2 separate regions of the Homo sapiens genome follow, and region 1 is linked to region 2. The links are contacts of gene promoters, found by promoter capture Hi-C in human tissues and cell types (Jung and others, 2019). All regions are on one chromosome and are shown on one strand. Each heading gives the region's core, a stretch centred on a gene start or on the middle of the fragment in contact. The rest is flanking DNA. Distances are from core to core; before and after follow the strand shown. Region 1 overlaps SCN9A (sodium voltage-gated channel alpha subunit 9). Region 2 holds the start of SCN9A (sodium voltage-gated channel alpha subunit 9).

Region 1 (6,557 bases), core at 3,749-6,248, 140 kb before region 2:
TTGTACTGAAGAGAGAATGAGAGTAGCTGATCTCATTGGCTTCACAATCAATATAGATATAATAAGAGCTTCATCATGTTAGATAGATCAGCCACAATTACCATAACCAGTATCCAAAAGAAATTTGAGTTCTTATCGTAAATTATCTTAAGAAAGAACATGAACAGCAATACAATCAATACACATTTTAGTTACAAAGCAATGAGCTCCTCCATGACCTTAGATCTGGATCTATAAATATGTTTACTCTCTGAATTAGTTCCATGGAAAATATTCATTTGCCTCACATCCTGTGTAGCAGGAGACGATGTCTAAGAAAAATGTCTGGAATGCAGTTCTTCATTACGAATAAGTTAGTGACTGAGAGATTCAATTTTTCGAGGGAAGAATAGGAACAGATGAGAGCCAACTTTATATATTTATCTATTTCAGGCGTAGAAAAAGTCATTGTTCACAAAAAGTTCATTGCTGTTACCATCAGAGACAGGTAAACTGACTGATGAAGCGGGAAGTGTTTTAAAGTGCTCATCCTCATGTAGTATTTCCAGATGTCTCACTAAATGTAACATGGCTTTTTTTTTTAAATTCCTAAAGCTACGTATTTAGCAGAATAAATTACTCCTCATGCCACTCTTAAATTTGCCCAGTCATTCACATCCATTATTTTCCACTTAAGAACACTTGAAAATATGTATGCTCCCTCTTTAATCAGAAAATTTTTTTTTTAATGTTTTGCTGTGGTTTGAATGTTTGTCCCTTTTGAAACTCATGTTGGAACTTAATTCCCAATGTAACAGTATTAAGAGGCAGAGCCTTTAAAAGGTGATGAGGTCATGAAGGTTCTGCCTTCATGAATGGAATATAGAGTAAGGGCTTAATGGGTTATCATGGGAGTGAGTTAGATATCACAAGAGTGGGTTTATTATAAAACCCAGTTTGGCTCTCAGTGAACACCCCTCGCCATGTGATGCCATGAGCTGCCTTGGGACTCTCTGGTGTGCCCACCAGCAAGAAAGTTCCCACCAGATGTGGACCCTTCACCTTAGACTTCCCAGCTTCCAGAACTTTAAGAAATAAATTTCTTTATTGAATACTTTAACCAGTCTCAGGTATTCAGTTACAGCAATAAAAGGTAGACTAAGACATGTCTGTTATAATTGATACAGCCCCTAAAATACTAATAGGTCTGTTCTCCAAGCCACTGTTAAGTGAGTTTTATGACACGGAATATATGCATATTATTAAGACTATGGTATAGTTTGTAACTGAGAATATATATGCATATATATTCACATCTTTCTATAAACACACACGTATATATACAAATATACGCCTGTACTGAAGAACACTGTTTAATCAAGTAAGTTTCAAATAACCCAGAAGCCTGCAGAAATCAGACAAGTCCATTCTCTGAGTAGCAAATAATATAAGTAGTTCTGAAATCTGAATATACAACAGAATCATCTGTAGGGCTTGTTACAATGATTTGCCACATCCAACCCCAGAGTTTCTGATTCAGTATGTCTTGGGGTTGGGGGCAGAATTTGCATCTCTTATGAGTTCTCACCTACATGTGCCAACGTTTTCAGTTTTGAGACCATCCTTCAAGAACAACTGCTGTAGATAAGTTTCTATACTTTTCAGAAAAAAAAAAAATCAGCCACTCCCCCAAATCTGTGTCCCAAAATTTGCATCTCTGTCAGCAAGAATATTGTGTGGAGCTTTACTCTCTGTGCTTTGCATTATATTTGTTCGTTTCCAAAATATTAAATAATATTTCAAATTGGAGTTGTTTATCTCCCTGATTTCTGCACATTACATACCCCTGAACAGGAGGTTATACTCACTGAGAATCATCACTTTAAATTTTCAAATAAAACAATTTCCATTATTAAACAGCCATATCTCTTAATTTAAAATAAGTTCAATTTTACTTGTAAACCTTCATTTCTTACACTGAATGATGAAAATGAGTGTATTTGTGATAATATTTTAAAGATTTTAAAATATCTAAAATATTGTATAATTTTTTAAGAGAGAGACCCCGTCATATTTACAGTTTAAGAGAAAAGAAAATCTACATTCCTTCTATAATTTCTTCTTATTTGGGGCAGCCTTTCTTCAAAACTACTATATTACAAAAATACCCATTTTATCATTTTTCATTTTTTAGGCAGTAACTAGATAACTTGATATATGAATGATTAATTGAAAAATAGCAAGAAATCATTACTATATCCGAAGTTAGAATTCTCATAGAGGAAACCTAAGATAACACATATAAGGTGTAATATATAGCTATGTTAAAAATTTTTTCACATTACATATTATAGAAAAAAGTTATTGTTTTTAACATTTAATATGTTGTGTGATTAAGAAAACGAAAATTATTATTATTTTTTTTGAGATGGAGTCTCACCCTGTCGCCCAAGCTGGAGTGCAGTGGCACGATCTCGACTCACTGAAACCTCTGCCTACCGGGTTCAAGCGATTCTTCTGCCTCAGCCTCCTGAGTAGCTGGGATTACAGGCACCTGCCACCATGTCTGGCTAATTTTTTGTATTTTTTAGTAGAGACGGGGTTTCACCATGTTGGCCAGGCTGGTCTCAAACTCCTGACCTCAGGTGATCCACCTGCCTCGGACTCTCAAAGTGCTGGGATTACAGGCGTGAGCTACCGCGCCTGGCCAGAAGCCAAAAGTTTATGAAGCTTTGAATAACAGTTGAGAAATTGAACTTTTGAGTAAATATGACTAATTTGGTAACATTTTGCAGTCAGATTTTACTATGTATGATCATGCTTACTTGTGATTTTCTAATCCACATATGATGCTGTATGAATTCAACTTTTCTTAAAAGCTCGATAATGCAAACCCTTGGTTAAATTTTAAAGCACTTATTGGCATATACAAATTTGCGTGTTGACCTCTAATTATGTCAGGCATCATATGGAAAACAAATCTCTAAAAACTATGACTGATTATAGGATGTTTCTTCCCTAAACACAAAGGTTAGGTTTCTGAAAATCTAGAAGAATTAGTAAAAGATAAAGAACATATCATTCTGAGAAAAATAAGACTGGGAGATTGAGGTTATAAAATAATGTAAGAAAGCCATTTTAATTAATACAAAATATGTCATATATATTATTAAGTTATATTATTAAAATATAAAATAATTAGAGTACATTCAATGAAATGATAATAATGGGTATTGTACCGTTAGTTTCTATTTGAGAGTCCTTGATCTCACCGACTATTTTAAGATTTCTTCTCTATCTCAATCAGAAGCCTGTAAAAATATTTCTACTTCGTTAAAATAATATGTAAACTAAAGAATTATTATGTATTTTCCATCATCCAAGTATTCAACAGTTCTTTGAATTTATTATCTAAAATTATTACATTAATAATAATGCCTACTCCTCTGCCCCACTGCCATTCTGGAGATGAAGGGCAAGTCGCATATTTGAGATAGAGACAATTGTGTCTCATTTTGGTTTTTCCTATAATTGGGTCTGAGATAGATATTTTAAAATTTCATGACTTCTCTCTCCCCAAATACAAAGTTAACTTTGTATTTGTATAATGATTTTTAGAAAAATTTTAGCTCACATATCAGCCAACTTGATGTGCCCCTCATCCTCTCTTATCTTCCAATTTTACATTATGAATAATCATCATTTCCTCTCTTTAATCTGTGTCTCTGCCCTTTTATCATCTCCTACTTCTAAATTTTGTTTTATTCTTAACAAGAATGACATTCAAATCATATTTTTTAAAAAATCACATCTCCTTTGCAGAAAACATAAAAAACTCAATTATAAATGTTACAATGTCACAGAAATAATTTACATTTGTTGAACGATTTCTGTTCTAATATTCCTCACAGATATATTTCCACTGGCTGTGTTAATATTTCTAAAAGAATAAACCTATAGCCTGAAAATATATGAAGCTTAACAAAATTAAAATATGATAATATGCAATAGTGGTGAAGGTTTTTTCACAACACACAGTAAGAATAAATCCTCTTTTAAAATGTACTCAAAAGTACCTACATCAACAATTAGGAAATCCAGCCAACACCAGGCATTGGTGAAATATGTTTTATAACCATATGCTATCCATTTTAGAAGCATTTCCAGAATGAAGATGTAAGTGAAGATCTTGTCTGCATACTCCAGGATAATCTTAATGGTCTTTTTCCTTTCAATATAAATATCTTCAAAAGCCTGTGGAAATAATATTCAAGTTTCAATCATGCACAACTTAAGCTTCATGATTCATTTAAAAAAAACAGGAAAAATACAATTCTAATGCTAAGACTGCTGAAACATAATATTGACATGGGCCAGCTGACATTTTTTCTGGTTTACAGTTATCATATAACAGTTAGTTCTAGCCTTCTCACCAGTGCTGCTGCTGGTCTTCAGAGGTCAAGAGAAAGTGCAAAAGAATGAAATTACTTATAATCCACAAAAAGACTCATGATCTCTGACACCTGATCATTTCCACCTCCATCTGATTCCTCCTCTTTCTCCATTAAAATTGGATAAGTCCTAGCAATTTAAGACATGATCCCATGGCCAGCCACTGTTATAAACTTTTCACATCCTACACTCCCCTTTTTCCCCACCAGTAGGATGTGGAGCCTGTCTTTCAGCTCTCAAATGCTTGTGCATCCCAGTGCCTAGTACCATGTTAATAACAGCAGCAGGAAAGGAAAGATTTGCTAAATGAATGACTGCAGTAGCTTAATAGGCCTATAGAACACAGAGGGTGCTTTTTCCTTTGACTATTCATCCATATATTATCCTTCAAAGCTTCAGCTCTAAAAATCACTGTTCTATTCTCTCCATTAATGCGGTGCTTCCTATGCTTTCCAAGAAATTTTAGTAAGTGACACACAACATTATGTGACAACATTAGGTGAGCTCTATCTAATGTAGGGCTTACGCTTTACTGTTACTAATTTTGGTTATCACTCATTTACTCCTATTTTGTGTATGCTCTTCTGTCTGAGGAGCCACAACACAGTGAAAGGACAGGGTGACTTTGACTTTAGACTTCAGCCACATGTCCCTTGACAAAGAATTTGAAAGGACTGAAAAATTGGGCTCATTGTTGCAGTGAGCCAAGATCACGCCACTGCACTCCAGCCTGGGCAACAGAGCAAGACTCTGTCTCAAAAAAAAAAAAAAAAAAAAGGCTCATTGAGACACTGAAAATGATTGCTGATCTCAACAGGTCTAAAGTGTTAGAACTTTCTCTTTCAGATCGAAACACTATTAACCCTGTTGGATAAAATGAAAGTCAAAGACCTGTATCCTTCGTGGTTAATATTATATTTATTACCTGTCTACAGTCATGAACTTGTGCCATTCAGATTCTTCTTATTCTACGTTCTGCTTTCAATACTCTAAAATTATCCTTAGCAGTTTTGGGAAACTGTTGGTATCAATATTGAAGAAAAGAGACAAGTTGGGGCAGAAAGACTGAATGGACCTACTAAGATGCAAAAAGAAGGTCCCAGCAGTTGGCAGAGGTTCTGAAATTCAATGGAATTGAAGTGCAGAGGGAGGCTTCTAGCCCTCAGGATTTTCCTCCCCTCCACTCCACCCCCAAATTCTGGAGGAATCAGGCAAGCCATCTAAACCGAAACTATGGCAATGACTCAGTCCTTGAAATACAAAGACAAGGAAGGGGCTTAGTCACAAGGAAAACGAAGCCTGTTTCTAGAACTGGTGTACAGGGTCAGAGCAGAGCCGCAGGAAGTCTTGATGATGAGAACCTCTCTCTGACTGGTCCCAGAGCAGGAATTAGAATTCAGCCCACAGGGGTTCTAGCTTCCAGAACCAATTTTGTGGATGTAGGAGCAAGGAGGCAAGAATGACCTTATGTGAGCTCTATCTGATTTAGGACTTAACGCTTTACTGTTACTAAATTCAGTTACCACTCATTTATTTCTGTTTTGTGTATACTCTTCTTTCTGAGGAGCCACAACACAGTGAAAAGATATGGTGACTTTGATTTTAGATGTCAATTCAGTGATAGCTCTGTCATTTACTAGCTTTGGGACATTAAGCAACTTTTAAAACTGTACCCAGCTTCATCATTGGTAAAATAAGCAAAATATCATAATCTCACAGGGTTGTTTGAAAATTAAATGAGAAAATCTAAAAGAAGATTCTGAAACACAATAAGTATAAGCTAAATGAGAGCTATTACTTCTTTTTAACTTTTATTTTAGGTTTGAGGGTACATGTGAAGGTTTGTTACATAGGTAAACACGTGTCATGGGGGTTTGCTATACTTTTAAAAAATCTAGTTTAATTGGCAACCTGTCTAAGTACAAACACCAGCTTCTTGAAATATCTTTCCCTTTTCTTCCTCATATGATTTATTTAAAATACACTTTTGAGAATGCCCTCCCCAAATGTCTTCCTCTGTTTTAGACATTTTGAACAAGGAATTACTCCAAACTTTAATTTTTTTGTAATCTCCTCTCTGAAATTCTCAGTCACATATGTGAGTCAGCATGGGATAAACCTCCTTA
Region 2 (6,033 bases), core at 1,221-3,720:
TGAACTAATTTGGTGGCCGTGTAGATACAGAAAAGAGGGTGAATGAGAGGCATCTGAGACGTATGATGAAATAGAAATAAGTTTGGGAGATAAGATTGATAGATCTACTTACAGGCTGGAAAGGGCTGAAATGGAGTAATAAGGAAGAGAGCAATCAAAGGTGATTTCAATACTTGGATGGTGAAGGCATTTATTCAGATAATGAAGATGGGAGGAAAGAATCTGAGACAGAGTTTTAGGGAAAGTCATAAATTATTATCATTATGACATCTAGAATGTTCCATTTACATCAATAAACTTTAAGCTCTTTTACAAGATCATGACTTGTCTTAGAAAAGTACCATATAAATCCTTCTAGCACTTCACACTCTTTTGCATAACTAATAGGAATAGAAATTGGATAAAAAATAGATTTTATTATTCATGTAAAATGAAAAATTCTACTTTTTTCCTTGCCACAGAGAAAGTGGGTTGATTATATTAAATAAATAGAACCCTACTGATTGCTCTTCTGAATTTATTTATTTGTTTATCTATTTTGCTTCTGAAACTCAGCACAGCAACAGGTAGTAAAAACATAGAAGCATTACCACAGAAGGGCTCCCATGATTATATGCAGGCCCTAGGGGAAAGGAGGCCCAAGATGCTTTTGGCAGAGAGCCAGACCTGACTCATCTTTCTTCTGTAGAAGCATCAGGTACTCTGTGAGCCTAGCCCTGCACCATAGGAATCAAGGCATATCATATATCCAGTCACTGTAAAAACACATCACTGAGTCCCACAACTGCACAGTGGCTTACTTAAGGAAACCTCCTTTTAAACCTCTACAAAATTTTAAAAAACTTGTCTTAAGCCAAACTATCAGTTGCCTAAATAGAGGGCACATTCTTCTTTACATCAAATACCATATTCTGTCTAGAGTTTTGTTGTTGATAAGCTAGTCTAACAATCATGAAAATTTGCGACACAGGGATCAGATAAGACTAGCTTTCAAACTAATCAATAATTTTTAAAAAATCTCACCATAATTATAAGAAAAAATTATAAACTTTTTTAAATAGTGGAAAAAATCTGAAGAATTTGCAATAAAATGAACAGTTTAATAATTGGATTTGGTTTGCAGTTTATATAAAATAGGTTTATATTGATGTTAAAGCAAAAATTATAAAATATATTTAAATAACAAGGAAAGAAAGAGAAAGAAAATCTTTATCTTGTCTACAGGGAAGAAGAAATAGAAAAGAATAATAAATATGTTTCTGAAAAGAACTGAACTTCCCAACACTGACTTCCTATTCAGTAACTGACAAGCTATCACTTCCTTGAAAGCTTACTTTGATTTGGCTTTTATCTTACTGACACTAGCTTCTTAAAAACCCCCCTAAGTTTCTCATGTAAATTGCTCTTAACATCAGAGTAGATATAATCTATGAACGCTCCAACTTAAAAAAAAAAAACTAAAATAATGAGTGAAATGTTTACTATAATCACAAAAACTGGCATTAATGTTTCTAGTTTCTTGTTCTGATTTTTGTCTTGAATATAAGGCACGAAAATATCCATTTTTTCCTAAAAGTAAATGAGTTTCCCAAGTTGAATTCGATAAAAAGTTAAAAGGATTCTGCATCTTTTCTGAATTTCACTATAAAGTGCTTATTCGAAAAAATAAATAAATAATCTGCGCTGAGAAATAGGGGCAGAGCTGTCCTGTCAATTATTTGTGTTTGTGTGCTCTTAAGGGGTGCGGGGTTCTTTTCTGTCCCCACAGGTTGTATCTGCTAAGCTGGTTCTGCACGCTCAGCTTTGCAGATGGGAAATACAGCACATGCTTTTTGCTCGTAAAAAATGTGAGCTGCCCCTTGAATTGAAGTCCATCTAACAACTCTGCTAGCGTAAACAGAAATAAAAGACAGTAAACCACCAGGCATTGCTACCCTTCCTTTCCACAGTTTCAGAACCTGGCAGCAAACCCACAGAGTCAAAACCGCACAGGAGCTGCCCAGCTATCGAAATAACTACGCTTCCAGCCCTTCTTCCTCCCATTGCTGGAACCACCCGGTCAAGCTTCTCCCCTCTCTTCTTTCCAGGTGGCGTAATACAGGGTTCCAGAACCGAGATGTGAAAATAGACACAGGTGGGTGTGGCGGTTGAGGCGAGCACGGGCGAAAGACCGAGGGCTTCTCCTCCCCTCCCCACAGAAGCAGCAAAAGAAAAGGCACTTACTTGCAACCTAGCCCGCCGATCATCCCCACCCAGTGCACCTGCAGAATCTGGCTCCAGGAGAGGGCGCGGGCCTCTCCTTCCCCGGCGCTCTCTCAGGGCTGCTTCTTTTTCTCTGGGCTCCTGTTGCTCAGGGGACGCCTGCCGCTAGCAGCCACTGGCACCCAGGCTAGCCCAGCCTCAGCCGAGCTGGCGGAATTGGAAAGCCGACAGCCGCCGCTGGAGCGCTGGCGACCGCCTGCAAGCAGACTGCGCCCCTCCTGCCAGGGCGCGCCCGTGGAGGTAGCAGCCCCGCCTCCCCGAGGGCAGCTGCGCCGCTTTGCCTCCTCCACTCCTCCCAGCGCGCCCGGGTCCCCACCCCTTGCTCCCTCCCTCCCTCCCTCTCTCCACTCCTGCGGGCGGCGCAGGGCGGGGACCCAGCTAGGGGCGCGGTGGTGGCGACGCTGTAGCCTCTGCACCATGCGCTAATAGAAGGCGGAGGAGGGGGTTGCACGACCTGCCATCCACGGCCACCCATTGGGTGGGGCGTGTGTGTGTTTGAGTGTGTGTGTGTGTGTGTCCAGCAGCCAGAAGAGCCCTTCCCTTATCTCACCCCCGCCCCCATCATCCCTTTCCTCCCTTCCTGCTCAGCAGAATCGGCTAATGTTTCCGAGAAGTCACTTTGTGTGGCTTGGTGGGGAGCTGGAGAAAAACTCCGGAGCAGAGGAGGTGGGGACCAATGGCAAAGCCCTGAGTCTGGGGCAGTGGCTGGGGAGCCAGACAACACCGCCAGGCCAGCGCCTCCCCGACCTTGGGCTCTGAAGAGTCTAGGCTGGGAATTGGTTTCTTCCGTAGGGCTTTGCTCACAACCGCGAGTGGGGCGGTGACGCTCAAGACCGGTATCTAGGCTATGTTTTCTGTTTTCTTTATATATATGTATATATAAAATCAATTGAATTGCAGCGTCTTCCAGGCAAGCAAATAATACATTTTCTTTCGAAGATGCAGTGAAGAATCAGAGGAGGTCCTAGGTGGGGAAAGAAACGTGGGGAAAAGGCTGCTTTTCCAGACCTGGGACCCGATTATCTGAATATGCCATCAGTCATATGGGTTCTGAATTTCAGAGCTGGTAGGAGCGACTGTGAAAATAAATTTTTTAAAAATTCATTTTGTGTGGAGTGTGTGCGTGCGCTTTCCTACAGCAGCCTGGGAGGAAGAACAATGGAAACAGGGTTGAATTATCTTTCTCAAAGAGAAACAGGAAATTTCCACCAAGGGAAGAAATCAAAGGATGGCCATAGGGCAGGGTGCCTCTCAAAAGGGCAGACCACTTTGCAGGATAAACACTAGTGACGGGCACTTTTATTATTTGCTTCCACACCTTCTATCATGGAAATGATGCTTAGAGATAACCGGAAGGAAATCAAATCCCAGGGTCTACTTTTCCCTGCTGCTTTCTTTGCTTCTGAGATTTGTCCTGGGGCTTTGGACCTTACATTCTTGACTTGTAAGATGTGCTATTGAAGGAAGGAAACTTCAGTGACTGAGACTGTGCAATGAAGGTGAACTAGCTCACTTGTGATAATTCTCAGTGCCATATCCTGGACAAATCGCCTTCTCTTCCCTGATTGGTGGTAGATATAGGAAGAAGAGTTCAACTGCAATAGGAATAATGGTCTTTTTTATTAGATGCAAGCAATGCCACATTCTTTTATTTTTAAAATTTTATTTTTAGAGCAATTTTAGGTTCACAGCAAAACTGAAGGGAGGGTACAGAGATTTCCCACATAACCGCTACTCCCACACAAGAATAGCCTCCCCCATTATCAACATTCCCCACCAGAATGAAACATTTGTTAAAATTAATGAACTTACTTTGAGGTTTCATTATCTCCCAAGGTCTGTAGTTCACATTTAGGGTTAGCTCATGGTGTTGTCCATTCTATGGGGTTAGGCAAATATATAATGACATGTATCCACCATTACAGTATCTTACAGAGTAATTTCAGTTCTCTCCTGAATTCTCTGTGTTCCACTTATTCATCTCCCATTTCAACCCCTGGCAAGTACTGATCATTTTACTGTCTTTATAGTTTTGCCTTCTCCAGGATATCCTATAGTTGCAATAATACAGAATATAGCCCTTTCAGATTGACTCCTTTCACTTAGCAATATGCTTTTAGTTTTCCTCCATGGCTTTTCATAGCTTGATAGCTCATTTCTTTACAGTGCTGAATAATATTCCATTGACTGGTGGTACCATAGTTTATTCATTCACCTACTGAAGGACATCTTGTTTGCTTCCAAGTTTTAGCAATTATGCGTAAAGCCTCTATAAACATCTTTGTGAAGGTTACTGTGTGGACATGTTTTCAAGTCCTTTGGGTGAACATCAAGGAGCACAATTGCTGGATCATATGGTGAGAGTATGTTTAGTTTTTAAAGAAACTGCTACACTGTCCTCAAAGTGGCTGGAGCATTTTGCATTCCCACCAGCAATACATGAGAGTTCCTGTTGCCTCACATCCTTGGCCAGAACTTGATATCATCAGTGTTCTGGATTTTGGTTATTCCAATACATATGTGGTGGTATCTCATGCCCATTGTTGATACCATAAGTGTTATTTGATTTGCATTTCCCCTGTGATATATGATGTGGATCACCTTTTTATATGCTTATTTGCAATATGTGCATCTTCTTTGGTCTGTTAAGGTATATGGCCCATTTTTTTCATTGGGTTATTTCTTTTCTTGTTGTTGAGTTTTAAGCTTTATTTGTATATTTTGGTTAACAGTCATTTGTCAGATGTGTCTTTTGCAAATATTTATCTAACACTGGCTTGTTGTCCGTTTTTGCAGAGCAGAAGTTTTTAATTTTAATGCAGTTCACCTTAGCAATTATGTCTCTTATAGATTATGCCTTTGCTGTTATATCTAGAATAACACATATGTTAGATACATTCTTAGAGTGGAATATATAATGCATTATACATTATATATAACCTATATATTATAACATGTTATATATTATATTACTATATTATGTTATAATATATGTTATGTATAATACATATGTTGTATATAATATATAACATATTATATATTCCACTTTAAGCATCCATTAACAAGAACTTACTATTCTCAATATATCTAGGTTCTTGTTAGAGATCTTCAAACATAAAATCCTGGAAAATGATAAAACCAAAAATAAAATCCTCTTGGTCTGACTGAGGGATCCCTTGCAGGATTTTCCCTGTGAGCTCATAGGCAAAGCATTAGGTATATTATTCATTATTTTCCCAATTTTCTTTCATGTTCCAACTATTTATTTCCTTTCCATTTCTTTTATGTGCCATTCCTAGTCTACAGAACATTAGCTGTTTGTGTTTTTCTTGCTCTTTTGGCAGCCCTAGAAATTTTATCTTGGTTTAAACCCAGAAAAAGTATCTTTCCAAATTTCTTATTAAATACTACACTGCACAGCCTTGAGAGTTCATTAAACACTAAATGACAGCGTCAGATGTAGACATAAGTAGATGGTACGTTTAAAATTTAAAGGGTAGGCTTGAATTAAGGGAACCAGACAAAGCCTGTCTGGTTGAAAAAGCCAATAACCAATAAGTTCCTAATCATATTTACAACTGACCTTCCGTAACTTAGATAGAAAAATGTGGAAATGTTGAGTCATGGAAATTAACTAACATCATACAATCCATACCAGAATAGGAATAAGAATTTTATTTCCCTTAGTGAGAAATAAATGGATATCCACACTTCTGTATTTTCCACAATTGCCACTGCAATTTTCAAAACTGTAGAAGTTTCTGGAAGAAC

Evidence for each region. The method cuts DNA at HindIII sites, captures the fragments that hold promoters and counts their contacts. A contact is called where the count stands out against the background at its distance.
Region 1: a fragment that was not itself captured here is called in contact with the fragment with the promoter of SCN9A in region 2 in 1 of the 25 tissues and cell types used here (H1 embryonic stem cells).

What each region holds. Positions count from the first base shown.
Region 1 is chr2:166,234,035-166,240,591 of GRCh38, forward strand. SCN9A (sodium voltage-gated channel alpha subunit 9) reads right to left here. Exons shown (of 27, transcript NM_001365536.1): 20 at 4,060-4,233. The region is part of intron 4 of SCN1A-AS1 (SCN1A and SCN9A antisense RNA 1); the gene reads left to right. Among named protein-coding and RNA genes, the nearest start is that of SCN1A, 110 kb to the left of the region's middle. The HindIII fragment of the contact is 3,333 bases long and covers 3,333-6,557 here.
Region 2 is chr2:166,373,474-166,379,506 of GRCh38, forward strand. SCN9A (sodium voltage-gated channel alpha subunit 9) reads right to left here and starts at 2,471. Exons shown (of 27, transcript NM_001365536.1): 1 at 2,224-2,471. The HindIII fragment of the contact is 4,548 bases long and covers 1,697-6,033 here.